Linked DNA regions of Homo sapiens: regions 2, 3, 4 and 5 are each linked to region 1. Evidence: promoter capture Hi-C in 16 types of primary human blood cells and fetal thymus (Javierre and others, 2016). All regions are on one chromosome and are shown on one strand. The core of a region is centred on a gene start or on the middle of the fragment in contact, and the rest is flanking DNA. Distances in the headings are between cores, read along the strand shown.

Region 1 (5,640 bases), core at 2,265-4,764:
GAACACTAAACTATTAACCAAAACCAACATCAACATCCTTGTACATGGTAAAATGCTAACGTTACTTTCATTTCCAATGAAAATCAGTAACAGAGATGCCTATATTATAATTGTTACCTAACATTGTTTTGGAAGTTTTTGTTTATACAGTAAGACCAGAAAAAGAAAAAAGAAAATTAAACATAAACAGAGAATGTTCTATTTATTTTTATTTATCTTTTTTTTTTAAGACAGAGTTTCACTCGTTGCCCAGGCTGGAGTGCAATGGTGCGATCTTGGCTCACTGCAACCTCTGCCTCCTGGGTTCAAGCGATTCTCCTACCTCAGCCTCCCAAGTATCTGGGATTACAGGCATGTGCCACCACACCCAGCTAATGTTTTGTATTTTTAGTAGAGATGGGGTTTCTCCATGTTGGTCAGGCTGGTCTCGAACTCCTGACCTGCCTGCCTCGGCGTCCTGAAGTGCTGGGATTACAGGCATGAGCCACCGCGCCTGGCCGAGTGTTCTATTTTTTTAAAGGTGGTGGTTGAAGGTGACTGTATTCTTCAAAAATGTCAAAGAAAGGCTGTGGGAAGTCAAAGAAGGGCTGTGGGAAAATGTTCCAGATTATAGGAAGCTAGACAGACATGACAAATGCAATACCTGACCCTAGACTGGATCCTATACTGGAGTGAAAAAAAAAATGCTACATTCCAATTTATCAGCTTACCCGATATCAGGTAAACTGATAAATTGGAATGTGGATGGTAGATTAAAGTATTGTATCAGTATAAATTTCAGAAGTTGATAGCTCTACTGTAGTTATATAAAAGAATATCTTAATTCTTAGGAAATATACACTGAAGTACTTGAGCTTAGCGTACCCTCAAAAGATTCAGGAAGGCCGGGCGCAGTGGATCATGCCTGTAATCCCTGCACTTTGGGAGGCCGAGGCGGGCAGATCACCTGAGGTCAGAAGTTCGAGACCAGCCTGGTCAAAATGGTGAAACCCTGTCTCTACTAAAAATACAAAAATTAGCCAGGCGTGGTAGAGGGCGCCTGTAATCTCAGCTTCTCGGGAGGCTGAGGCAGAAGAATCGCTTGAACCGGGGAGCTGGAGGTTGCAGTGAGCCAAGATTTTGCCACTGCACTCCAGCCTGGGCAACAAGAGTGAAACTCCGTCTCAAAAAAAAAAAAAAAAAAAAAAAAAAATCAGGAAAAAATTATGCACACACAGTCACACATGGAGAGCAAATGATAGAGCAAATGAGATAATATATTAACCGTTGGTGACATGGATGTTCCTACTACTATTTTTATCTTTGCAAATTTTTATAAAATTGAAATTGTTTCAAAATAAAAAGTAAAGTAAAAGTATACTGACGGAAAAAGAGACATAATTCCCTTTATTTGCAGATTATATTATACATTTAGAAAGACTCAAGAGGTTCTGGTTTAGAAAGAAGGTTTTAGAATGAATAAGATAATTTGGCTGTTTATAAGATAAATATTTAAAAATCATTCCCCCCCTCCTTTTTTTTCTATTTTAGTAGTAACCAGTTAGAAGAGGCAACGGAGAAAACCATCCCATCTGCAATAGGGCCAAAACTCATAAAATAGCTAGAAATAAATATAACAAGAAAGGTACAAAAAAAAATTATGGAATAACATAAAACAAGTCCTAAACAATGAAGAACATTATTGTCTTAATGTTCTTAGTTACTAGCATAAAAACATTAATCCTTTTGAAAAGTATATAAATTTGATCCAACCCTAATGGATTATTGTTTATTTTAAAATTTAATAAAATTATTTTAAAGTTCACATAAATGTCTGAGAATAGCCAAAGTAGTTATGAAAAAGATCAGAGATAGAGGACTTGCCTTTTCAGATATTAAAACTTGTTATAAAGCTACTGAAGTCAAGCAGTAAATTGATATGAGGTAGACAAATGGATCAGTAGGAAAGAAAAAAAGTCCAGAAGGAGATCCCAGATTTTATAGGACTATTATAGAACAAATGTTGTATATTAATTAATTCTCAGAGGGGAAATAATATATAGAACATAAGAGGATATCTAGTTAGAAGATAACCACATCATAAACCCAAATACATTCCAGGCATGTAAAAAAAATTTAAATATAAAGTAAAAACAATTTTTAAAAAATACTGGAAGAGCTTTTCTTCTTTCCTATCTTTCTGAATAATCCAATTAAAAGACAGATGAGCAATGTCTTTAAGCAAGACAAGAAATTCAGAAGGTATAAACAAAAAATATTTGATCATATGAGTATTTCAAACTTCTGTATGGCAGAGACACAATAGATGAAATCTTTGTTTCATTTATTGTTGCAAAAGATAGCCTGTGAGCAATAAACAAGGAGCTCCCGTATGCACAACTTGCTTGGTAGGAAGATTTCACGGAGAAGGAAGCAAAATCAAAATGGTAAACATATGGACAGACACTCAACTTTCCTAGTTATCAGAGAAATGTAAATAAAAGCGAGACAGTACTAGTTTTCATTTATTAGATAGGTAAAACTACAGAGAGAACATATTCAGGGCCAGCAAGGATGTGGGGAAGTGGGTCCTCTCATACCTGGTTGGTGGAAATGTGAATTACCACAACCCTTCTGGGCAAGCCATCTTGCCCCAAATTGTCAATATCTAATTTGAAATAAAAAAGTACTTGAACCAGCAATTCCACTTCTGGGAATCTATCCTATAACCACAAAAGCGTCCGTTTAAAAGGGATACAATATTGTACTATTTGTAATGGCAAAACCTGAGAACATACGAATGTCTGTCAATAATGGGACTATTGAGTAAGTTACAGTACATCCATACTATCGCCTGCTATGCCAGTATCCAAAAGAATGCGTAAAATGTGTATCCGCTGACACTGTCAGTGGATCCACTGTCAGTCCCTTGGCTCTCAAGGGACTGACCCCGAGGTCAACCTCTAACATATTTGCCTGTGTTTGAGCGTATTCAGCAGGGTCTTTCGGGGCTGAGAATAAAGCGGTTAGGGGCAGATAGTTAACTTTACGTGTCTTTCCTCTTTTTCACTAAGTTACAAGGAGCATGTATTATTTTTGCAATTAAAATATAATACATTTTTAGGACATGTTACAGCACAGTGCTGGTGATTATCATCATCATTACTATCGTTATATCACCTACTGGCCACAAACTAGTGACCTTAAGGGCTTGCGGGTTGGGGCGGAGGGTCCAATTCCCCAGCAAGGTGTGACCAAGTAGGGACCACTCCGCCAGGGAACCCCTGCTGGTCGAACTTGAGACTAGGTTTGCAGCCCTGACAATCACACGGAAGGGAGCGCTACCTTGAGTCCTCCCTTGTCCTGTGAAGAGGATGCCAGGAAGGTGACCTGTGGTTCCCCAAACCACCCCTCAGCCTTGCGGAGTGGGGGCTTCAGCACTAGGCCGGCCGGGGAGGAGGGCTCCGAGGTGGGAGGAGCTCCGAACACCCAGGCGTCTTGGGTTCTCAACCACAAGAGGGAGCCCAGGAGCACGGACAGCGAGGGCCTGGGAAACGCGTGGAACACACGTCCCGGCTCGTTTTCCTCTCCCACTCTGATAACCTGTGTTTCGATACGAAACGGGCCCTGCCTCATTATTTGTCATCTCCCTGGAGGTGACGGAGGGCTGTTTCAACCTCAGGGGAAAAGTTGCTGTACAGAACACAGGCCAGAGTGTGCCCCAAAGAAATCAGGCGGTGGAGTGATTTAAAAGTGATCATTTTCTGTAGTCCTAGCTACTCGGGAGGCTGAGGCAGGAAAATCGCTTGAACCCGGGAGAAGAAGGATGCAGTGAGCAGAGATCGTGCCATTGCACTTCAGCCTGGCGACAGAGCAAGACTCCGTCTCAAAAAGAAAAAAAAAAAGTGATCATTTTCATGTGAGTTTATGTGGGTGAGAGAGGGAGGGTGGCAGGAGAGGAGAGTGGAGAGGAGAGTGGTGCGTTCTGTGTCCCTGAAGGACAAAATCAGAGAAAATGAACTTTAAATGGCAGAAATTGTGGTCAGATCTGGGGAAGGGCCATCAGGTTTTCACACTCAGGCATGGAGGGTGTAGTGTCTGGAACCTTTAGGAAGAGCCCCAGGCTCTAAGTGTGTGCTGGATGTTCGTCGTTATTGTTGTTGGTGGTGGGATCTCATGACCAGTTATGGCAGTGGGTACCTGGGAGAATTCCCGTGGGGGATAGCTAGTCCAGGAGCTTGTATCTTAAGGGGCCCTATTTCCCAGCCGCATACTGAGCAGGCCTGATCCCATCAACTCGGTTGATGTCGGTTACTAAGAGGGCTGCAGGAAGAGGGCATGACTCAGTGCAATGTAACCCCGTGCTGGAGATTCAACTGAGCTCTCAACCAGCAAGTGGCCAGGCACAGGGGAGCTGCTGTCTACACACGGAGGACTGGAAGTTCTTAGCAAGCCTGTCGGGATTTGTGCACAGGAATGCTGCCTCTAAGGTCCCTCCTGCTGACAATGGCCAGGGCAGTGCGGAGGCTCCTCTTTGGAAATTGTCTTCAGAGCTGATGCAGACTCTTTTGAAAGCAGCCACAGACATTGGGGATGGAGTCTGGTGGTTAAGGTGAGTGCTTACTCCAATTCTCAAACAGGGACCAATTTGAATCACAGACTACAGGAGTCAGAAGATTCTCTAGAACAGAGGTTCTCCGTGTGGTCCCCATACCAGCAGCATCACCTAGGAACTTGATAGAAATGTACATTCTTGGGCCTCCTACCCCAGGCATGCTGAATCAGAGCTCTGGGGTGGGGCCTAGCAATCTGCCTGTTAACAAGCCCCCTGCACCCCTGATATTCTGATGCTTGTTCAACTTATACAAATCAGAGAGTTAGACTTTTCTGGGTCACGAACCCTGAAAAATCAGACGAAACTGTAGAAACTCCTACCAGAAAAATGCACAGGCACATTCATGCATACCTTCAAAGGTCTGCACACAATTTCAAGGGCCTAATTCCTTGGGCTAAGAACCTCTGATCTACACAAAATTCTTCCCTCAAATGTTCTTACATTTGAGGACGGAAGCAGGAAGAGTAATTGCCTGTGTGATTCAATGTGGGCAGAAGGTGGCGCTGTAGAAACAGAATTGTAGCATTTGCCAAATCCTGGTAGAGGGAAAGGGGTAGGGGCAACGGAGAGGGATGGGGAGAGGTGCCTCCACCACCCAATTATTTTTCTCTGCCAAAGCTACAGATGCATCCGATAGTCGCAAAACCACAGGTCTGGGGACCTAGTTCTGGTTTCCTAGATCGGCCTCATTTTACAGTGGAGAAAATGGACACCTGTATAGGTTCCGACTCCATGCCACACTGGGTCCCATGGAGAATGGCAGGTCTGGTGGAGAGTGTGGTGGAGGTGGAGAGGGGGCAGGAGGTGGCACCAACTGTTGAATCAGGCTTATTAGCATTTCTGCATTCCAGGCAGAAACATTGCTGGCTATTCTCAAGGGAGAATAATACTACATTTGTCTGATGTGAACCTCACAATAATCCTATTATTATTTAATAGATGAGGAAACTGGGATTTACAATCCGAGATTGATGGTTCTCTAACTTGAGCATCAGTTCACCTGGAAGGCTTGTGAGGACAGACTTCTGGGCCCTACCCCCAGAGCT
Region 2 (5,857 bases), core at 2,181-4,680, 210 kb after region 1:
GCTGGAGTGCAGTGGCATGATCTCGGCCCACTGCAAGCTCCGCCCTCCGGGTTCACACCATTCTCCTGCCTCAGCTTCCCGAGTAGTTGGGACTACAGGCGCCCGCCACCACGCCCGGCTAATTTTTTGTATTTTTAGTAGAGACGGGGTTTCACCATGTTAGCCAGGATGGTCTCGATCTCCTGACCTCAAGATCCGCCCGCCTCGGCCTCCCAAAGTGCTGGGATTACAATCGTGAGCCACCGTGCCCGGCCGTTCACCTTGAAATCTTAAGTTCAGTTCCATTAACTGATCCAATGCTCGAAAGAAGACAATTAGAGGTACATTCAAGTCACCACCAAGTCCTGTGTTTTGTTTTGTTTGTTTTTGTCTCCTAAACATCCGAAGCCTATCCACTGTTCTCCAGCTCCCCCAGGCCCTGATTCCAAGCCCGGTCTTCCCCACCTGAACATCTGCTGCTGCCTCTAACTGACCCCCACACGCCCACTAGTGACCCATCCCCTATTCTATTTTTCAGTGTGAGCATTCAATATGAAAATGGGACCTTGCTATCCTCCATTTAAAGCCCATTAATGTTTCCCATTATTCTTAGAAAAAAGGCAGAATTCCTCTGTGCTCGAATCTCATAGACCTTACCCTTTGCCACTCAGCTTCAGCCACAATGGACTTCTTTCAGCTCCTTCAACTCATCAAATGCTGTCTAGCTTTCGAGCCTTACATTAGCTGTTCCCTGCACTAGGAATGCCCTTTCATGTCATTTATATCTCAGCCTTCCACCTCTTCAGAGGTCATTTTCCCTTTTTCTCCCTGTCCCAGCATGTCTGTATGTATTGTCCACACATACAGCTATACAAACACATAACACACAATTTAGTTCAGAACCGTTTGAATGAAGTGCAGATATCATGCTATAATAAATACTTCAATGTGTGTTTCCTGAAAACAAAGACATTCTGTTACATAATTGCCCAATACAATTTTTGGTAATTGTAAACTAGACAATTAACATCGACAAACCTTTCATAAACCAGGCAATTAACATTGGTACAATCCTACTATCTAATCTATAGGGTTTATTCAAATTTTGCCAATTCCAATTATTTCCATGGTGGTTACCAAATGGTGACTATGTTGCCCTATTTTAATTCTTGTCATAGTTCTTATTACTCTGAGTTTTAAGAGTGTAGGATGTATTATCCATTTAGGATGTAAACACTAAAAATAAGCTCCTTACCTGGCCTGTTTACTCCTGTATTTCCCCTGGCACCAGGAACAGTGTCTGACACATAGAAGATAAGTATTTGATTGATGAACAAATGAGTAAATGGCTGACTGGATGGCTATGACCTAGCATGATTTGGCTGCCATGTGTCATCCCTGCTGTCCCCTCTAGGCTTCTCAGCTCTGCTCTGGCCACACTGGCCTTCCTTTAATTCCTCATGCTCTGTATGCTCTGATCTACCACAGGACCTTTGTACCTGCTATAGTAATCTGGCCTGGAACACTTTTTTCTTCCTATTTCATTGTTGACTCTTGTTTTTCCTTACAAGACTTGATGACTTTAAATACAGTATAGCCACAGCTTCCAGGAAGCCTCTACTCTAGGTTTTTCAAACCAGATTTATTTTTAAATAGACCTGGCAAGTATTTCAGAATTTTACAAACTTCTTTGAAATGTTACACACTTGTTGAGAAGAAAGAGCATTTTCTTCTCTTCTTCTCCCACTGTTAAGTGTTTTGAAGCAGATATTGTCCCTAATAAATTACCTGACTGGTGGTAACATACAAAGCAGCCTGGAGAGAGGAGACAGCCATAAGACGCTGCCTCTTCCTCTGTGAAATGCTGAACTTTTCCTTTCGACCAGAGGTGCCTTATGCTCACATTTCTTTCATGGTAATCCAGCTCTCAGAGAAGTGGAGTAAAAATACAACCAAATTATATTTTGCACATGTCCTTTTATGAGTCATATGCTACTGTATGTATTATCCAATTACACATGCACAGTACTGTGTGGGGTGATACATGGAGAGCCATGCCCTATTCCTCATGTCCACTGAGGAGATGTTCAATGATAATTTTGACTCCAGCCAATATTGACCGTACTGACAGGCTATGGACGCTGACCAGTCTATCATAAGATGTGACTTTGCTGTGATAATTTTGACCTCCTTAGCTAATTCATTAAATACAGTCTTGGATTCTTGAGTGGACTGTGCTATGCAACAGCAGTACTAATATTTTTGAAGCAAGATTCTCACTTAACACATCTGTAACATAGGATCCATAGGATAGGATTTAATAAGATTTTCAAAGAGAGTGTATATTTTTCCCTCATGGGCAAAGTTAAACATACATTGACAAACTTAAATATCACATAACTTAAAAAAACATAACATTAAGATGTATGTAAGTATAGCCAGGGACCTCATTTGTAGGCTCCCTAGGTGCTGTTCAAATGGTGTTCTATGGCAGGGAACATAGAACTCTTTTGCCAGATTTATACATACAGAGCACATCAAGGACTTGAGTGGATTGTATTGCCCTAAAAGGTCAGCCCCAAAGACAGATAATGGCTACAGTACTTTGTTTTCTTTGCGGCATTCCTCTTATTTCATTCACTGTTGTTCTATAGGCAACAAGAGTTGAAGAATCAATAGGTACCAGTTGAGCCTGACTTGATGTTTCACCTTGAGCTCCATCACTTTGATTGCAGATATCGTCATATTTTCTTTTAGAATTCCTGTTCTTCAACCAGCAGTCCATTTCTTTTTTTAAGGGAAATGATTTCACTTCATCTAAAATAAATAATATGTATAAATATTAAAAGTTAGCTAAGAACACCTACAACTTAGTTCTGCCTTGTCAAGAGCTGATTCCAAGCAGATGTAGCTGAGCTGTTTCTGGTGTGTCACTGGGCCCAGTGAATATTTTCTCTGGTAATGTACTTGATTATACATTTTCATGTGAGCAGACACAAATGGGTTTTACTCTCTAAAAAATAACTAGCTCAGAAATAGCACTTTCTTAACCAAAAACATGTTTTGGGTAGTTCTTAAATCTGCATAGGCAGGGAAGCTTTATTCTGACGTCAAGGAAAAGAAGAATTAGCACAAGGTATTGGTAGTCTCAGATGTATTTGAATTAGGAATATTAAAGGTGTAGTATATAATGGCCTTTTAAATAGTTAAAACAGATTGGATCAAATGCTTGTAGAATCCCTGATGTACCTCTTGGAAACTTCCAGGTTCTTGGAACACAGTTTGAAAACTTCAAATCCAGTCCAACATCTTCATTTTATTATTGATTAGAGAAATGTCAAAATTGGTTAATGGATTTGCCTGGGAGCCCACAGCTGGGTGGGATGTGTGGGGGAGGAGCTGGTATTGTGACCGAGGCTGCTGATCACAACAGGCCAACCTATACTGCAGTACCAAGACACCATATGATTTCAGTGGCTGAACACAACAGAAATTTATCTCTTGCTCCTGTTGCATGTCCATTGAGTTTCAGTGTGTGTGTGGGTCCTGTCCCATGTCTTCCTTACTCAGAGATTTAGCTGATGGAGTTGTCATCATCTGGAAATTGCTGGTGACTGCAGCAGGAGGAAGGCTTTAACATGCTTCTTCCCAGAAGAACGTTTGTTCATATTTTATTGACTAGAAAAATACGTATGGGAATGCTGACCTGGAATGTGGTGGGGAAATGTCATCTTCTCCTGTACGCCAAAGTAGAGAGGAAACATATACTGGTGAACAATAGCATCCATCACACTTAAAAGCTTGCCTCCCAAAGGAGCTGCCCTCTTCGTTAATACATTTGCTCTCACTGTCCTTTCTCCTTTATTCTCCCAGAGCACCACTAACACGAAGCTCTTCTGCACATCAGACTCTTAATCAAAGGATTGGGCATATCAGAAGGTAATTATAGTGTAAGGCTGTAAACAACTTTTAAATTCAATGTCAGATGTCAGTAATTCTCAAAATTTATTGATCATTCACTGTTACAGGGAGTTTCTCACTGGCTGTTTCTTTCTATAAGCTACTGTTCTTTGCCGTGTTCTTGTCTTGATGCTCCTGACTCTCTTTCCGTCTCCCATTATTTTCCCACTGCTGATATTTGGTAACTTTCTCTGCAGGGCAATTTATCATTTCTTTTTTTAAATCATCCTCTCCCACATCAAGATTTGTGAAATTTGACAAAGGAGCAGGAACTCACTTTTCACATTTTAAAGGACCCATCAAAAAATTTCTTAGACCAAGGCCGGGCACGGTGGCTCATGCCTATAATCCCAGCACTCTGGGAGGCGAAGGCAGGTGGATCACTTGAGGCCAGGAGTTTGAGACCAGCCTGGCCAACATGGTGAAACCCCGTCTCTACTAAAAATATAAAAATTAGCCAGGCATAGTGGCACACGCCTGTACGCTCAGCTACTCGGGAGGTTGGGGTGGGAGAATCACTTGAAGCCGGGAGGCGGAGGTTGCAGTGAGCTGTGATTGTGCCAGTGTACTCCAGCCTGGGTAACAGAGTGAGACCCTGTCTCAAAAAAATAAATAAATAAAAATAAAAATAAAAAATTTCTTAGACACACACACAAAAACAACAAAAAGCAAACAAACAAACAAAAAAATCCCCACAAAAAACAAGACAACAAAAACTCTGCCATCTCCCTGAGGATAAATGATGCTTCTCCTAGAATGAAGAAATTGTTAGCTGAGGTGTTTTGTTTTTAACCAGCATTTTACTCTGCTCTGCATGCTTGCAGTGAAATTGCTTACTATAATGTAATTTTTGCCACCCAAATCTATTAGGTTTCTGTTTGTATTGTGAGATTGTGGATAGTGAGGAGGGATACCTTTAAGTCTAATTAGTCAACCGATTCAGGTTTCTTGTATTCTCCTATCCTCTTTTTTAAGCCTCTTTGTCAAGGACTGAAAAGCATATTAAAGTAATCCATTATTATTATGATCCTGTTATTTTCTTACTGATTCTCAACAGTTTTTGCTTTACATATATAGTCCAGTGCTATGTTATTTAGTACATAATTGTTCAATAGGATACTTTCATTATGGGGTTTACTTTTTTCAAATATAAAAATATTTTGAATCACTTAGAGCTTTTAACCTTAACTTTTATTGTCTCTGATATAAATATCATAAGCCATAGTTTGTTTATTTTTTCCTGGTGCATATTTATTGATCTAATTATTTTATTATCTATTTTAGTTTTTTAACTTTTATTTTAGGTTCAGGGGTACATGTGCAGGTTTGTGACGTAGGTAAACTTGTGTCACGGGGATTTATTGTGCAGATTATTCCACCATGCAGGTACTAGGCCTAGTATGCAGTAGTTATTTTTTCTGATCTCTCCCTTCTCCCACTCTCCACCCTCAAGTAGGCCCCAGTGTTTGCTGTTCCTTTCTTTGTGTCCATGTGTTCTCATCCTGTAGCTCCCACTTATAAGTGAGAACATGCAGTATTTGGTTTTCTGTTCCTGTGTTAGTTTGCTAAGGATAATGGCCTCCAGCTTCACCCATGTGCCTGCGAAGGATGTGATCTCATTCTTTTTCATGGCTACATAGTATTCCATGGTGTATATATGCCACATTTTCTTTGTCCAGTCTGCCATTGATGGGCATTTAGGTCTTTGCTATTGTGAAAAGTGCTGCAATGAACATATGTGTGCATGTGTCTTCATGGTAGAATGATTTATATTCCTTTGGGTACATAACAGTAATAAGATTGCTGGGTCAAATGGTAGTTCTGCTTTTAGCTCTTTGAGGAATCACCACACTGCTTTCCACAACGGTTGGACAAATTTACACTTCCACCAACACTGTATAAGTGTTTTCTTTTCTCT
Region 3 (5,858 bases), core at 2,091-4,590, 170 kb after region 1:
GGGTCAGAGCAGGCTGTGCAAGATCAACAACATTCCTGGGAGGCAAAGTCCCAAATGAAGTGCATGAGAATCTGCTGATGACAGGGATGGAGATTAACGTCTGGGGCCAGAGCCCCAGAAGTTCACTCGGGGAATGAATTGGCAAGTATTCGTGCAGACAGAGAGGGCCGTGAGCCATGAGAAGCCACAGCATGTGGTGTTGGTAGGGAGAAAAATTAATTTCAAGGTCCAGGAGAGGCCTGTTTAAAATTAGAGCTTCAAAGTGTAGGTTTTTGCCATATTGGGGTTGGCATTGCTAGATGGCAGGCTGTTCGCTGTCTTGCCATTGTATATTCCTTCTATTTGCCACTCGTGGTTATGGTTCTGGCATTTCATATTATGCATGGCTCTAAATTTTGTTCAGAGTTGCCAGTGACACTGTAGAGACCATGTCTCTAGACAAAGACCACCCTCAATTTTGGAGTGAGATGCCAAGAGTGCTGGGGCTTGAGGGCCTTTGGAAAGGGACATATGGAGAGACATAGTATCTGTTACAGGGGCCTTGGTATGCTGCCAGTATATATTTCCAAACTCTGGCATGTCATGGGAATGTTCCTTGAAAGAGTTTCTGAGAGAAAGAATCCTGTGTGGATGGTAGACTCCTACCACCCCTGTTCCAAGTTGCGGTAATCTGTGAAATTACTCACTGGGGACATTTCTTCCTATAGCATTTTAAGCTCTGAAATGAGACGGTTTGGCTAGTTGGGATGAATTCATTAGCACCTTGGGAAAGACCTGAAGCCTCTTTCTTCTGTCTTCCACCTCACATTCCCCCAGGTAGTGGCTCTATACGATGGTAAAACTTCTACCACAGTAAGTGATGGGTCTCGCTTTGCTTGAGAAGCACAGTCATCTGCCCTGGGGTTCACCAATAGCCCATGGGGCATATTCTGATGAGATTAGTCAGCCCAGCATTTTCCAAAGTTGTTTCCCATTTAATGGGGTGGGTGCCTTCTGGTTTGTCCCAGTCCTCCCCACTCCTTCCTGCACCAGAGTAGCATATTTCACCTGGTAAGGTGTTGGGATTTTCTGCCCTGGTCTAAAGGCACAGTGGCTCAGAGGAAAAGCTGCTCCGGCGACTGCATTTATAGCCCTGGGATTTTACTGTGCTCTCTATACTTTGGGGATTTAGGGGCTGGTGCTGTGATGGTGCCTATGCTTGTGGTTCTCTGGGATTTTGGAAAGAGCCTTGCTTTTCAGATTATCATAGGAACAGGGACTGAACTCTAAAGCTGAGTGAGCAAGGATTTCTGTTTACCCCATCTCCCTCACCAAGCCTGGCTCAGTGGGTGGAGGAATGTACATTGGATAATACGTCAAATTCTGCAGCCACACTGCCAACAATTGGAGTGTGCCTGCCTTCTTAAAGATATTAAGCAGCAAACTGGGTTTCTATTCTCCAGACTACCCTCTTCTTGGACCTTAAACTCTTTGGCTTAGATGAGACCAACAGCCAATTTTTAATGAGCTGTGACAATAAAGACAACATTTATAAACTTTGGCAAGTTTTTCTATTCTCATACTTAAATATTACGTTTCTGAAATTTTCCAGCTAATTCTTAAAAACAAACTAAAATAAATGTTCTAAAATGCAGTAGACTATAGGCAGAATATTGTCATCCTTTAATCCTTCAGGTAAATTTATATGAATTTGTCTCAAGTATAAAAAATTCTAAATATGAAAAAAATTAAAATTTATTTTAAAAATAAAGCTTCCAAAGCTAGGTCTGAACTATAAAAAGAAAGAAATGTTGATCACTTGTATAGTGGAAAGACTCGATCAAGATTAGAAAAAAAAAGCTACTCATACATATTTTGTGTCAGAGACTGCTCCTGGCAGTGTATACATATTAACCTATTTAATTTTCACAACCACCCTGTGCTATACAAACAATTATATCCATTTTACATGTGAGGAAACTAAGGAACAGAAGTAACTTGCCCAATACCTGCAAGTCAGTGAAGTGTTGGGGTTGGGGGGGATGTGGGTGATAGTGTTAAGTCCTTTTTAACCACTTTCGTTCTAACAAAACTCAACTTTGAAATGTAAAGGAGGGTGGACTAGAAAATAGATAAATGTTTAAGGCTAAGTTAAAGCATTTGATTGCGGTGCTTTACCATCCACAGTGATGTACATAATAGGTTTCAGTATCCAAAATGCCTGACCATGACTTGAGCGGCTTTATTTTTCAGTCATGGGTTTATTTTTTCTTCAAGTTGAGAGTTTCAGAAAATTGAGCAGAGACAAAATGATCTTGCCACGTTAGTAAAACCACTGATGGAAATACACTAAAATCCTTCCCATTTCTTTTCCTTTGCAACTAAAATAAAAAATTATCATCAGGTACATAACATTGTGTGCCTGTTCTTGATTTTTCTATCACTGGCATGTTTATGTGACCCATTAGGTGGGACAATTTTTTTACTGTTGGCCACTATGTTCTCAGTTTTTTGTTCTCTTAAACGTGACAAATAACCGATGTGTTTAGCCCTTTCTGTATTTTGTATTGTTTTTGCAGGATAGATTCCCAGAAGTAGAACTGCTGAGTCACAGGTAGGTCATTCTATAACCTGATGCATAGTGCCAATTTATAACACCACTGGCTGTATAATAAGAGTGCTAATTCCATCACATTCTTAGCAATGAGCTCTATTAAAAGAAGGAATCTTAATGGGTAAAAAAGTAGTATCTTTAAATTTAAACATCTTTGATTACTAATAAAATTAATTTTTTGCATATTTCTTTATTTCTTTTGTAAACGGTTCTTATTTTTAACTATTTATAATGGAATGTTTTCTCTGTTTCAGACTTCCACAAGTATGAAAAATGAAAAGGCCCAGGGTTACCTTCTAGAGACAAATAAATGCAGTCTTGAAAGTTTTGGAGTCTCTCTTTTTTTTTTTTTTTTGAGATAGAGTTTCACTCTTATCACCCAGGCTGGAGTGGCACGGTGTGATCTCGGCTCACTGCAACCTCCGCCTCCTGGGTTCAAGTGATTCTCCTGCCTCAGCCTCCTGAGTAGCTGGGATTACAGGCATGCGCCACCACGCCCAGCTAATTTTTGTATTTTTAGTAGAGACAGGGCTTCTCCACGTTGGTCAGGCTGGTCTCGAACTCCCGACCTCAGGTGATTCAACCACCTCAGCCTCCCAAAGTGCTGGGATTACAGGAATGAGCCACTGTGCCCCGTGGGAGTCTCTTTTTTAAAAAAGAAGTTTTGTAGTAATTCCGAGTTTAACAATTACCCTTTTAAATAGCCTTGCCTCTCTCAAGTTTACTCCACTCTGCCTTCTCCTTAACTTCATGCTTTGAAGAAATAGGCTTCAGGGGCTTCATCCTTTGCTTCCAACTCACTGTCATCCTCTGGGGACCTACATCTTTTTTTCATTGCTTTGAGAAATAAGTGACTGTTACCCTTCCAATAGAAATTAACCTTAATAGAAATGAAGACTTAAGCTAAAAGAGTTGTAAACATTGGCCAAGGGGAGTGAGAGTTTTCAAGGGTTTCTAGATACCCAGCTAAGGCCAAATGGCACCTTTTGTGCAAGGTAGACAGCCAAACACCTTGAGCACAAAGACTTCGTCTTTATAACCATTGCTCACAAAGACATAGTACTTATTATATGCTGGATTCTGTTCTCTATGCTTTCCATGTGTTAACTTGTTCTTACAACAAGCGTAAGATAATGGCATAAGTATCCCCATTTCACAGATGGGAAAACCAAGGTACAGAAAGTATAATTAGCTTAGCCTGCCTTAACAAATACCATAGACTGGGTGGCTTAACAACGGAGATTTATTTCTTATAGTTCTAGAGGCTGGAAAGTCCAAGATTATGGTCTGGCATTGTTCAGTTTCTGATGAGGGCTTTCTTCCTGGCTTGCAGATGACTGCCTTGTCACTGTGTCCTCATATGGCAGAGAGATAGCTAGCTTTGGTTTCCCTTCTTCTTATAAGGGCACCAATCCTATTGGATTAGGGCTCCATCCTGATGACTTCATGTAATCTTAATATCTCCTAGAGACCCTGTCTCCAAATACAGCCTTATTGGGGGTTAGGCTCTCAATATATGAATTTTGGGTGAACATATGCTGTTCATAGCATTCTGTCCCTAGCCCTTCCCCCAAATTCATTTTATCACATGCAAAATATATGCATTCCACCCCAGCAGCCCCCAGAATCTAAACTCATTCTCACTTTAAAGTACAAAGTCTCATTTAAATATCTTCTAAATCAGGTATGGGTGAGACTTGAGCTATGATTCCTATCTTTCTCCAGCTGTGAACCTCTGAAACCAGACAAGTTATGTGCGTCCCAAGCACAATGGTGAGACAGGTGTAGGATTGACATTCCTATTCCAAAAAGGAAAAATAGGAAACAAAGTGTTAATGGGTCCCAAGCAAGTCCAAAACCTATTGAGGCAAATTCCATTATATCTTAAGCCTCAAGAATAAATCCTCTTTGCTTTGATGCAGTGTCATCCTTGTGGCTTGGCAGGGTGACCTTCCCTCGGAAACTGAGGAGGAACTCAGCTCTTCTCCTGCCTGTGCCCCCTCCTCCAAAACATACACACACACACTGAGTGGCCACCCTGATCTCTGAGTTGCCTTTGGGGTCATTTCTTTCCTTTGCTTAAATAGTGCATGTTTGTAGCCAAATAGTGATATGGTCTAGTCCTATAGAATCTGAGAAGGCTGACAGCTTACCTTCATTCTTTCCCATTTTCTCTGTCCCCTTTCTTTCCAGCTATCAGGGTCTTTCTGGTATAATCCCGTCGGTATTCCTGGCTTCAGCTGAGATGGCTAATTAAGTATATGAGTCACACTCATGATCTGTTATCAAATGGTTGCTCAGCCACACCCTTAGTGATCTCTTCAGAGTAAGCTTTCTTAATTTTTGCAATATGGATAGGTTAAGAAATTTTCCAAGTCCCCAAGTTCTGGTTCCTTTTTTTTTTTTTTTCTTTTTAAGACAGAGTCTCTATCACCCAGGTTGGAGTGCAGTGGCACAGTCTTGGCTCTCTGCAACCTCCACCTCCTGGGTTCAAGCGATTCTAATGCCTCGGCCTCTTGAGTAGCTGGAATTACAGGTATGCACCACCATGCCCAGCTAATTTTTGTGTTTTTAGTACAGATAGGGTCTCATCATGTCCGCCAGGCTGGTCTTGAACTTCTGGCCTCAAGTGATCCACCCACCTCAACCTCTCAAAGTGCTAGGATTGCAGACGTGATCCACCACACCCAGCCTCTGATTCCTTTTTGCTTTTGATTTCTTCAGTTTATCTCATGTTTCCCGAATTTTACTATAAGCAGTAAGGAGGACCCAAACTGCACCTTTAATACTTTGTTTAGAAATCGCTTCTGCTAAATATTTAATTTTATCACTTGCAAGTTCTACCTTCCCAAAAGCACTAGAATGCTATTCAGCCAGATTGTTTGCCACTTTATAGCAGGATCACTTTTTTTTTTTTTTTTTTTTGGAGATGGAGCTTCACTCTGTCACCCAGGCTGGAGTGCAATGGCACAATCTCAGTGCACTGTAACCTCCGCCTCCCAGGTTCAGGCAATTCTCATGCTTCAGCCTTATTTCTACCAACATTCTGTTTCTGATTATTCTCTGAGAAGATGAATGCTTCTCTCCAGCTCTCCTCTTTTCTTTCTGAATGCTTACCAGAAATATCTTTAACATCCATATTTCTACCAACAGTCCCTTTATGGCAATCTAGGCTTTTTCTAGCATAAATCTTAAAACTCTTCCATTTTCTATCAATTACCCAGTTCCAAAGCCACTTCTAGATTGTTAGGTATTTCTTACAGCA
Region 4 (5,796 bases), core at 2,841-5,340, 190 kb after region 1:
CAGTGATAATCTTTTTTGCGGAATCTTGCTCTGTCACCCAGACTGTTTGAGTAGGGATCTTGCTCTGTTACCCAGGCTGGAATGCAGTGGCATGATCATAGTTCCCTGTAGCCGGGACCTCCTGGGCTCAAGCGATCCTCCCACCTCTCCCTCCTGAGTAGCTGTGACTACAGGCATGAGCCACTATGCCTGGCCTATTCCAGTGATAATCATAAATAATTAGCAGTAAAAATGTGTTCTGGATCATCTTGATGGCAAGGCTGAAACTGATGCTGGAGTCTGCGTTTGCCTTTGTATCTTTCCATTTGAGCCATGGGCAGGCCTGGTGGCTCCAGCCACAGCCTGGGTGAAGGGAAGGGGAGTTGGAATAGTGGAGAGAGTGAGTCTACACAGGACACACACAACTTGCCAACTCCAAAAGAACAGCTCCTGGCGACCACTGCTCTATTGGCAGGGATTGAAGATCTCACGCCAGTTCATCTTTGTATGGATCAAGTTTGCAGCAATTTATTAGCAGCAGATGTAGTAAAAACACAACAGAAAAGTTGCTGTTGTGGATTTTAACAATATTTGAATTAGATCTTCATTTAATGCATATTTAGTAACTCTCCAATAGGTACCTTACATCTAAGAAAATGAGATGGGGCCGGGCGCGGTGGCTCACGCCTGTAATTCCAGCACTTTGGGAGGCCGAGGCAGGTGGATCACCTGAGGTCAGGAGTTCGAGACCAGCATGACCAACATAGTGAAACCCCATCTCTACTAAAAATACAAAAATTAGCTGAGCATGGTGGTGGGCAACTGTAATCTCAGCTACTCGGGAGGCTGAGGCAGGAGAATCACTTGAATCCTGGAGGCAGAGGTTGCAGTGAGCCGAGATCACACCACTGCACTCCAGCCTGGGCAACAGAGCGAGACTCCAACTCAAAAAAAAAAAGAAAAGAAAATGAGATGGGTAATTTGTTCTGATGGTTAAGTGACACCAGACTGTCTGACTTCAAAAATTATTTTTCTACTTACTAGCTGTGAGAGTTTAGGCAAGTTATTCAACCTCTCTCCTGCTCAATTTCCTATAATAATATAGGAATAAATATATGGCATTGATTGCATGGTGATATTATAAGAATGAGTTGTTACATGTGAAAGACTTACCTATTGCAATAAATTAATTTTATTACTTTGATATTTTAAAGTGGATAGTTGTATTTGTACATTGTTTTGGCATTTTAATAATATAAAAGCTGTAAAGCATAGGTGTTTAGAACTGGTATTTATGAGTATACATATTTAAGTTACATTTTAATAAAAGTGACTTAGGTCAACCATGAGGTCATGAGAAATTTTTTCTGCCAAAAGGGATGTTTATATAGTTTAAGCATTTTGAACTATGTACAGGGACACACACAGATTCTTGGAATAGAAATTTGAATCTTTAGAAGAGATTGCAGCCACAATATTTGACTCCACATACATTGGCTGCTACAATTTTAGCCTGAAAGAATTTTAAAGCAATAATATGAAAAACTGCCTGTCTTCAATGACAACCACCACCAAATCTTCCAAACTCGAAGAGCACTCATGGAATGGCAGGCTTTTAGTAAAGATTTCATCCCGGTCTGTCTTCCAAGATAAACTACATAGGAAAGCTTTGCCAATGTTACTGAAAGAGATGAAGAGAAAGTGTATCCTCTGTGGAGTCTAAACTTCAGTTGTATAGATTTAAATGAGTTTATTGATTATGTTATTCAAATTTATTTTAAACTTTTCTTTGTACCTAAGTGATCTGTCAAAGAATACAAAAGATGTTAGTCTCAAATGATATTTTTGGCTGGGTGTGGTGGCTCACGCCTGTAATCCCAGCACTTTGGGAGGCCGAGGCAGGTGGATCACCTGAGGTCAGGAGTTCCAGACCAGCCTGGCCAACATGGTGAAACCTCGTCTCTACTAAAAATACAAAAATTAGCTGGGTGTGGTGGTGGGCGCCTCTAATCCCAGCTATTCCAGAGGCTGTGGCAGGAGAATTGCTTGAACCCGGGAGGCGGAGGTTGCAGTGAGCCGAGATCACACCATTGCACTCCAGCCTGGGCAACAAGAATGAAACTCCATCTCCAAAAAAAAAAAAAAGAAAATGAAATTTTTGACCGCTTTCCTTTTGCTATGTCCTTTAGCATGCCCTTTAAATCCATATAATATAGTTATATTTATATATTTATTTGATATATAATTATGTAATTATATATATAAACATGTATTTGTGTATATTTTATATGTTTTTACATAGTTATATTTGATGCTGTATTACTCAGGGCCCTGATTGCCCAGGACTGATGGGTTTTCTGGGATGAGGGATTTTCAGTGCTAAAGCTGGGACAGTGCCAGGCAAATGGGGATGACTGGTTATCCTCTGTGACACAAATGTTGTGACCCTTGACTCTCCATTGTGGGGTGAATCTTCCATATTTCCAGACCTGCTTTGTCTCATTGTATTTTTATTTTTGTCTTAAATTTTACTGTGTGATAAGAAATCTGGTCCTGCCTTCTTTCTGTTTCCATTTCCCTGGTGTGATGCTCATTCTCTTTCTTCTTAAGCTTTCTTCTTTTACGTCATTTTGATTTTTGTCTATTTTAAGCATCATAATTGGATTTTTAATCCAATTGTGACTCAATTTACATTTATTATATGTGATACAGTCACAGATCTTCTAAAATTTTATTTTACATTAAAAAAATTCCAAGCTATTTTTCCACCCCCTTTCTTAACTTAAATGTAGTGTAAGAGTCCCTTGTTCTTTAGATAAAAGGGAAATTTTCTGCCCATTTTTTTCTACTAGTCTTCATTAACATTAAAAAATATAGTTGTGTTGGCCAGGCGCGGTGGCTCACGCCTGTAATCCCAGCACTTCAGGAGGCCAGGGCGGGTAGATCGTGAGGTCAGGAGATCGGCCATCCTGGCTAATATGGTGAAACCCCGTCTGTACTAAAAATACAAAAAATTAGCCAGGCGTGGTGGCGGGCACCTGTAGTCCCAGCTACTCGGGAGGCTGAGGCAGGAGAATGGCATGAACCCGGGAGGCAGAGCTTGCAGTGAGCCGAGATTGCACCACTGCACTCCAGCCTGAGCAACAGAACGATACTCTGTCTCAAAAAAAAAAAAAGTTGTGTCTATTTGTTCTTTCATAAATAATGAGAGATTTAGTATACTTTAATTCCTTCCTTCCTTCCTTTTTTTTTTTTTTTTTTCTGTCACCCAGGCTGGAGTGCAGTGGTACAATCTCATCTCACTGCAACCTCTGTCTCCTGGGTTCAAGTGATTCTTGTGCCTCAGCCTCCTGAGTAGCTGGGATTACAGGCACCTGCCACCACGCCCGGCTAATTTTGTATTTTTAGTAGAGACCAGGTTTCACCATGTTGGCCAGGCAGGTCTCAAACTCCTGATCTCAGGTGATCCACCCACCTCGGCCTCCCAAAGTGCTGGGATTACAGGTGTAAGCCACTGTGCCCAGCTTTAATTTCTTTTTTGTTGCCCATCTACCCCCACTAACTTTTTGCCTTAAAAACATTTTGGCTTTTAGATCCAGATTATTGTCTTTAAAAAAAAAAAAAAGTAATGCATGCTTTTGCTTTCCAGAATTATTTTTGACATTTATGTTTCCTAACCATACTAACAGCTGCTATCTAGACTGAGAGTTACATAGGTTACAATACTCAGTCCATTTCCTATGCTCAATCTTCATTTTTACTTATTCCTTGATTAGTTGGAATCTTTTTCAGGAAAGATAGTATATTCCGGTAGTTCTTGCTTGCCTAAGAACTTCTTTATGTTGCTGTTTCACAGTAACATCATCCTTTTGGGGCATACACTTCTTCATCTTAATCTTTTTACCTAAAAACTCCAAATATTATTCTTTTGTCTTCTGGCATTTTGTATGATGGAAGATAAGTTGTGGCCAACTTTATCAAAATAACTATGAAAGTCCACAAAAGTTTTGTTTCTTTCCCTTGTAATGACTACTTTATTTAAAAAAACCTTAAAATATATAAAACATAACACAGATATAGGAAAGGACATGAAACAAATGTGCAGTTTAGTGAAATATTATAAAGTGAATGCCCGTGTGACCACCATGCAGGTCAAGAAGCAGGACACAGCCAGCTCCCAGAGCCCAGTGCACCCTTGAACCACACCCTGCTTCCCCCTGGAGGTAACAACTCACCTTCCTTTTATGGTAACCATTTTCTTGCTTGCTTTTATAATTTTATAATCTAAATTTGCATCCTCAAACAAAGTACATCAGACTTGTTTCTCTGAAACTTTAAAAAATTAGAACTGTACCATTTGTATCTTATTCATTGTTATAACATCTCCATGGTGACTACTTTGATGCTTCAAAAAATATATATCAAATTTATTCCAAGAATATTTGGAGCCCTACTTTGCTTGGTGCTCTAAATTGGGGAATCCAGCACAGCCAAGAAGGAAGTGGTTTGTGTAAGACAGTGGTCAGTTTTAGACAAGACGAGTTTGAGGTGGGGATGGCCAGCAGAGAGGCAGACGTATGCATGTGTCATGGCTGGGACCCGAGATCTGAGTTGCAGGTTCAGGGTTATAAACACGCACGTGTAGGTTTCAAGATGGCACCATGGACCTAAATATTTGCCTTTCTTTTCTTCAAAGTGTCCAAAGACAAATATAGTAAGGAAAACATCGATTTGAGTTTTAGAGAAGAGAACAAACACTGGGCCTAGATTCTTTAAGGACTCTGTAAAAGTTAGAGTACAGATGGTGCCAGCCAATATCACCCAGCCCATGAGTATCAACAAGGGGCTTTCCTGGGAAGAAGCAGTGGTGTCCTCTCAGCTGAGTGCTAGTATCCCCAGGCTCAATGAAACAGGGCTAGATGGGCTGTGGTATGGTCAGTGGGGTGGGGATGAGGGATATAAATCTAAGGGCCGTGGGAAATCTATCAGCACTGCCACCTTGAGTGGCAGATCCCCATCTTAGTCTGCCTGTGTTGCTATGAAGGAATATCCAAGGCTGGGTAATTTATAGAGAAAAGGTTTACTTTTCTCATGATTCTACTGGCTGGAAGACTGGGCAGCTTGTGGAAGCCTCAGGCCACTTCCACTCCTGACAGAAAGCAAAGGGGAGCTGGCGTGTGCAGAGATCACATGGCAAGAGAGGAAGCAAGAGAGAGGGGAGGAGATGCCAGGCTCTTCTTAACAACCAGCTGTCATGGGAATGAAAAGAGTGAGAACTCACTCACTACTGCAAGAATGGCTCCAAGCCATTCATGAGGGATCCACCACCATGACCCAAACACCTCCCACCAGGTACCCCCTCCTTCAACATGGGCTTTGGAGGGATCAAATATCCAAACCACAGCACCCTCAGTTCCTCAGACATGTGCTGAGGGAGCTCCCAGTAAAGTGGGGATTTAATATATCCAGCTTCAAACAAGGTTGATTCTGATCACTTCACCAGATGCAGCTAAAAATAAAGATACAAAAGTATGTAAATAAACGCTATTCCACCCAGCAGTAAATACCTGTAATGTATTTGATCTAACATAGGGCCTCATCCTGCAAGCTTCCAGGGCAGGATCTGGAGGCCAGGGAGCTTAGGATCTAGGTACCTGAATACAAATTTCAGTGCTCCATTTAATGCCTGGAATGGTTTTCTCTGTGCCTTTTTTCCAGCTGTGAAGTGGCTGAAAAAAACTTTCTAAGCCAAGTAGTAAATCCCTGTGGCTTCTATCAGTAGCAGCTCTAAGGACCATTTGACATCCTTCACCCCAT
Region 5 (6,049 bases), core at 3,467-5,966, 250 kb after region 1:
ATATGTTTGGCCTTATCTCAGGAATTTGACACATAGTAATTATTTTATTGTTAATTTCTAAATAGCTTGCAGTTGCTGTTTGGACTTTATTTTTCTTCTAAGAGCTATCTAGGAGTGTTTTCTTATTTCCAAGTGGTTGAATGCTTAGTCTTTTAAAGGTTTGCTAATAGCATTGGATTTTATTGCATTATGTTTAGAAAATATGGCCTATTTAATTTCTGTGTTGGAGATATATTCAGGTATTCTCTGTGACCTAATAATATCATTTAAAAATGATAATGGGTATATACCATCTCTATAGCATGGTATTTAATCTATATTTTTGTCTTAATTTGATTTTGTAAACAATTTTCTCCCATTACATTTGATTTCTGTTCATTTCTCTTGGTATTTATGATAGTTTTTGCTTTCTATGTCTTGAAATATTCACGGCATAAGCATGACTGATAGTTATAGCTTCATTATTGATTGCACCTTTAATTCATATAAAATGACCTATTAAATAGCTTCTTTGTATAAGAGAATATTGTTTTGCCCAACTTCTATTTTGATAATAATGTGATGACCTCTGCGTAGTTTTTGTTTATATTTGCCTGGTGTATTTTTGATCTTCCTTTTATTTTTACCTTTTTGGAGCCACTTTATTTTAGTGGGGTTTTTTTTGTTTTGTTTTTGAGACAGGATCTTGCCCTGTCTCCTAGGCTGGAGAGCAATGGTGCAAACACAGCTCACTGCAGCCTCAACCTCCTGGGCTCAAGTGATCTTTCTGCCTCAGCCTCCCAAGTAGCTGGGACTACAGGCATGTGCCACCATGCCTGGGCAATTTTAAAATTTTTTATAGAGACGAGTTCTCACTGTGTTGCCCAGGCTGGTCTGAAACTCCTAGGCTCAAGCGAGTTTTCTGCATCCGCTTCCCAGAGTGCTGGGACTGCAGGTGTGAGCCACTGTGCCTGGCCTGTTTTTATTTTTTGTAAACTTCCTATAGCATTGCCATCTGACATTCTGTGGCTGTAACAGAGAAATGGGATAGCCAATTTTTTTGGTTCCTTTTTAGGTCGCCAAACATTTTTTTTCTAGATGCTTATGGATATTTTCCCCTTATCCCTGTATTTCAGAAATGTTACCAGGAAGCATATAATTGTAGGTTTTTTTCTTTATATGAACTTTCCCCATAATCAGTGAGTACTCACATGCACAGGTCTTTTTTTTTACAGTTCAGAAAATGTTTCTTCTACCATATTCACATGGCTTATCTATAGCCGGGCTCTCTGGTTTTTATCTCCCAAATCTGTCATATTCTCTACCATCCTTTCCACGTCTGTCATTATACTCTTCCTCCTGAGAAAGGAATGGGGCTGACCAGCATTCCCATTGCCTCACCAATCAACATCTGTCAGGAAGACAGATGGATGCCTGGAAATCTGCTTGGTACACATCCAGGATATCTGAGTCAGGGATGCGGAGAGGGGAAGTTTCAAGTACCAAGAGTTCAAGCCCAGATAGGTTGTTATCTGTCTAGCTCCATTTGCCTTAGAAATTGGGGTTTTGAGCATCAGTGTGCCCTTAAGTCTTAGCTTTCAGGGACCATGGTGAGTTTTCATCTTTTTCTGTGTTTTCTTAGGTACTTTGACTAAATGGCTCAGTTAGATCTGATTTATAAACGTGACATTTAGCCATCCTAACTTTCGTGAGGCCAATTAGAATAAGCTTTTAAAAACTTGTTGTAATATTATTTTCTTTTTAAAATGGATACCTAATAGTTGTACATATTTATGGGGTACAAGCGACATTTTTATATATAAATAATAATATAATGATCAAATCAGGATAATTGGAATAACCATCACCTCAAACACTTATCATTTATTTATTGGGAGCATTCCACGTCTTTTCTTCTAGCTGTTTTGAAATACACTATGAATTCTTGTTAACTACAGTTGCCCTATTGTACTTTCAAATTCTAGAACTTATTCGGTCTGTCTGTGTTTTTGTACTCATTAATCAACCTGTCTTCATCCCACCTCTCTTGAGACTCAGAGCAGGGGATCGGGAGCTCCTTTTGAGCCCTCCTGTTCTCTTCTTCTTCTGCCCCTTGTACCTGTGGGTGAGGTCATCCTCTTAGTTGAACCTCCACGGGGTTGGGGAGAGGGACTGTCTTTGATACAGACACAGATGATGTGATGGGGTGAGTATTTTCAGACCTGTTCTGGCCCCCTGGCCATCACTGGGGCCCCATGGTTATTTGTAGGAGAAGTATTCAAAGAACTGTGGTATAGACTATATAGACCTCCCAACATCAGCCCCACCTGCCCACCTTTGCCTGGGGCCCTGTGCTTTTGACATGCCCTCCTCGCTGCTAGGCATGAAGCAGAGAAGTAATTTCTTGTCTGGGGAACCCACAGAGGGGAGGAGGCAATCCCAAACTGGTCAATTTGAATTAGAAATCCTTAACTTTGGAAGTTTGTTGTTGTCCTTGGCAGTCTAACTAGGCTTTTGGACCACTGCTGTCCCTGCTATCTGTGTTTGCAGGGCACCTGCCCTGGAGGTGTATCACCTCTGGTTGGCAAGGCCCTTGTGTGCGTTTCCTGACATGGGTGATTCAAGGCCTACTCTGCTCGCTGGATGTTGGCCCAGCACCCAGTCTGCCCTCGCTTTTTGTAGACCACATCATCACTTCCACTAATGGCACACTCGATGCAGGACATACATCGTCCGCCCTCGCTTTTGTAGACCACGTCATCACTTCCACTAATGGCACACTCGATGCAGGATATACATCGTACTGCAGCAAGTTTCACAGAGGTGGTAAAAGCTTCCAAAGAGCATCCTGATCCATTAAAATCTTTGGTGGGAGCTGGGAGAGGCAGCATCAGGAGGCTCCCAGCCAGACACCATTTTAAGCCAGAACCTTTCCTATTGATTCTCTTATTAGTTCCTAGATGCTGATTCAGATGCTAGAGCTCAGATGCCCTCTGCTCCCTTCCTGAGGCATGTAGGCAGTGGTCATCATGGTTAACGGGATAGACTGGATGTCATATCCTAGACCCTTGCATGCCCTGAGGACAAGACTATCAAACCCTCTAGGCCCATTTCCAAATCCCTTCCACATCCCCTCAAATTCCCAGAAAGAACCACCGTATAGCTAAGGGACTGCATGCCCAGAGAGGAGCCTAGGTACCCTGCCTGAGGCCTCTGGCCTTTCAGCCAGCCACAGCTGCACTCACTTCCAGAAGTTTATGACTTGTTAGAAAAACTTGAGGAAGTTACTTTCAGGCTGATCTGGCTTTCTTTTTTTGGGAGGGTGTGGGGGACGGAGTCTCGCTCTGTCCCCAGGCTGGCGTGCAGTGGTGCACTGCAACCTCCACCTCCCAGGTTCAAACGATTCTCCTGCCTCAGCCTCCTGAGTAGCTGGTATTACAGGCGCGTGCCACCACACCCAGCTAATTTTTGTATTTTTAGTAGAGACGGGGTTTCACTGTGTTGGCCAGGATGGTCTTGATCTCTCGACCTTGTGATCCGCCCGCCTCGACCTCCCAAAATGCTGGGATTACAGGTGTGAGCCACCGCACCCAGCTCTGATCTGGCTTTCTATTTTCCCTGTTTCTAAATCACAGAAAATGTGATTACATGGTGTCGTTAAAACAATGTAATAGCTGGTTTAATGACGAGTAACTTCTTCATTAATAATAACTGATGAAATATACCCATGTTTCCACTCAGAGGTTTATTCTTGCTTTGATTCAGTGCCCATCTTCAGAGTTTATGGTAAGCTTGGCATTCCCAGAACCTGTGTGGCATTCCCAGAACCCTTCATTCTGTGGCCTTGAGACTTGCCATGATTTTTGAGCAAAAGTTTATCTGAATGAGCAGACTTTATTGGGCACAGACGTCGATTCTGTGGACTCCTGCCCCAGGTAAGGGTCAAAGAATGTTTAATTCCCTGCCTGGGGAAGTCTCCTGTGCAGTTTTAGTGCCAGTGAGAATTTGGAGAACACTGGAGCAAGGAAGGGGAGGGCAGATGGGCCCTGGCCCTGAGAGAACTGCACTGTCCCTGCAGATGTCTCCATGATGACGCCTATCAATGACCTCCACACAGCTGACTCCCTGAACCTGGCCAAAGGGGAGCGGCTCATGCGGTGCAAGATCAGCAGTGTCTACCGACTCCTGGACCTCTATGGCTGGGCCCAGCTGAGTGACACCTATGTCACGGTGAGCAGAACGCCCTGGAATTGGGTGGGGCACTGCATGTGGTCCCACAAAACCCAAAGGGAGAACTCCTGACCCTTGGCATGGCCATGGCACTGCTGGTGACCTTTGGCTAAAATGCACTGAACCCTTCCAAGTTTTTTAACCACTGTGGTCATTGATAAGGCATCCTGCCCAGTGGGCACTTTTTTGGATGGGAAGGAACTCCTGGATCCTATCCTAGAGCTACCCTTGATCATAGTGAGTTTCCTTTTGTAGCTCCCTTTCTCCTGCTCCAAATAAAAGCTGAGTTCTTTTTATCTCTTATGGCTGGGGGGGAGAGATAAGGGTTCATTAGAGATGGACTTGGGTGCAGTAGATTCAGGGGAAGAGGGGATTCAAGCACAGTGTCCTTGGAAATGTCCTTTCTCCCTCCTTGCCCCTGAGAACTTGTGTCTTTCCTCCAGTTGAGAGTCAGCAAGGAGCAGGACCACTTCCTGATCAGCCCTAAGGGAGTTTCTTGCAGTGAAGTCACAGCGTCCAGCCTGGTGAGTACAGTCCAGCATCACTGCCCACTCCTTATTGAAATGACAGCACTCTCTCTGTTCCCACAGTGCTAGGTCATCTCCAAATTGGTCACTGTTGCGCTGTGGAGCTCACAATCTGATAGGGCAGAGAAGACACATGGAACAAACTAAGTGTCCAGAGCATGATGCGACCAAGAGACCAATTGCCAGGAGGAGGTGGCAAGTGCAGTGGGAGGGAGGAGGGAGTGGAGATGGGCCTGGCATCCTCTCAGCAGACTCATGGGATGGCTACACCTGGGATTAGACCACAATGGTTGGGAATGGGGGGCCTTTCTGGTTAGGGGGATACATTAGAATAAGACCCAAAGCAGCACGAGATTTGTCCAGCACTGGCACCATTAGAGATGCTTCTGGGTCCCTTTTCAGTGTTGCTCCTTTTAGATGAGGTAGAGGCTTGCAAAAGTTGCTTTAGTTCAGGAAATATTTCCAGATGGGGGGAGGAAAGCAGTAGAAAGGACTGTCTTAGAAGCAGAAAAGGCCCAATCCTTCTCAGATACATGGGCTGTGGCTGCTATGCCATGTACCTCGGAGAGGAGGACACTACCTTGGGGGCTTCTGCCAGGCTTGAGACATGCTCAGGTGTAGAGCGCGGCTACTCACTCAAAAGTCCAGGCTCAGCAAGTCATAGAATATCTAGGCAGGGCAGGACTTCTACCATGGCCAAGGCCACTTGAGAGGTAAGAAAGGAAACTGGTGCCCAGGGAGGGTAAGCAGCTTGCACAAGGCTACCCAAGGAGATGATGGCCAAGTCAGAGTTGGGACCACAGAGAAAAGGATGACACAGGCTCTGTCCGTAAGGTGTTCATGGTCTGGTTGGAGGAGAGAGGCGAGGTAATCAGCTATGAAAGCTCAGGGTTACCGAGTGTTCCAGTAGAGGTGAAGGAAGCTTGGGGAGCCTGGAAAGGGGCACCCTACCCCGCCAGGAGCTGTAGGAGAAAGAGGGAATGAGGGAGGAGGCGTCTAGCTGAAACCATGGTGCAGGAGTGGAGTCAGTGGGATATGAACCAGCGGGGTAAGCAGACTTAGATCATGGTGGCAAGGAGAGGTTTGGCAGAGGTGACTGTGTCCTTAGCAGGAGTGCAGCATGCATCAAACCCAGATGCATACCAGAGCCCTGTGCATGCATTTGGGAAGACAGGCCAAGTCTGGCTCAAGTATTCAGTATCTGGAGGTGACCTTGGGAAGGGGATCGGGTCCAGGTGATAAATGGCATGGAAGATCCTGTTATGGTGCTTTGGCTTTATTCTGCTGGACACTCAGAGCCACTGAAATGCGAG

What was found. The method cuts DNA at HindIII sites, captures the fragments that hold promoters and counts their contacts. A CHiCAGO score of 5 or more calls a contact.
Region 2: a contact is called between a fragment that was not itself captured here and the fragment with the promoter of ATP6V1B1-AS1 in region 1, in 1 of 17 cell types (M1 macrophages). The highest score is 5.8, in M1 macrophages.
Region 3: a fragment that was not itself captured here is called in contact with the fragment with the promoter of ATP6V1B1-AS1 in region 1 in 5 of 17 cell types (M2 macrophages, M0 macrophages, M1 macrophages and 2 more); the score reaches 13.8 in M2 macrophages.
Region 4: a contact is called between a fragment that was not itself captured here and the fragment with the promoter of ATP6V1B1-AS1 in region 1, in 2 of 17 cell types (M2 macrophages and M1 macrophages). The highest score is 6.4, in M2 macrophages.
Region 5: a fragment that was not itself captured here is called in contact with the fragment with the promoter of ATP6V1B1-AS1 in region 1 in 1 of 17 cell types (M2 macrophages); the score reaches 5.5 in M2 macrophages.

The regions. Positions count from the first base shown.
Region 1 is chr2:70,946,485-70,952,124 of GRCh38, reverse strand. It overlaps ATP6V1B1-AS1 (ATP6V1B1 antisense RNA 1), which reads left to right and starts at 3,514. Exons shown (of 2, transcript NR_110274.1): 1 at 3,514-3,898. The region is part of intron 2 of ATP6V1B1 (ATPase H+ transporting V1 subunit B1); the gene reads right to left. The HindIII fragment of the contact is 10,354 bases long and covers 1-5,640 here.
Region 2 is chr2:70,739,402-70,745,258 of GRCh38, reverse strand. The region is part of intron 1 of ADD2 (adducin 2); the gene reads left to right. Among named protein-coding and RNA genes, the nearest start is that of ADD2, 26 kb to the left of the region's middle. RefSeq lists an enhancer at 129-630. The HindIII fragment of the contact is 703 bases long and covers 3,079-3,781 here.
Region 3 is chr2:70,774,372-70,780,229 of GRCh38, reverse strand. It overlaps FIGLA (folliculogenesis specific bHLH transcription factor), which reads left to right. Exons shown (of 5, transcript NM_001004311.3): 4 at 2,559-2,593; 5 at 2,848-2,920. The coding sequence ends at 2,863. Among named protein-coding and RNA genes, the nearest start is that of ADD2, 9.1 kb to the right of the region's middle. The HindIII fragment of the contact is 3,173 bases long and covers 1,754-4,926 here.
Region 4 is chr2:70,759,036-70,764,831 of GRCh38, reverse strand. The region is part of intron 1 of ADD2 (adducin 2); the gene reads left to right. Among named protein-coding and RNA genes, the nearest start is that of ADD2, 6.3 kb to the left of the region's middle. The HindIII fragment of the contact is 2,998 bases long and covers 2,592-5,589 here.
Region 5 is chr2:70,694,405-70,700,453 of GRCh38, reverse strand. ADD2 (adducin 2) reads left to right here. Exons shown (of 16, transcript NM_001617.4): 5 at 4,058-4,209; 6 at 4,653-4,733. Among named protein-coding and RNA genes, the nearest start is that of ADD2, 71 kb to the left of the region's middle. The HindIII fragment of the contact is 1,888 bases long and covers 3,773-5,660 here.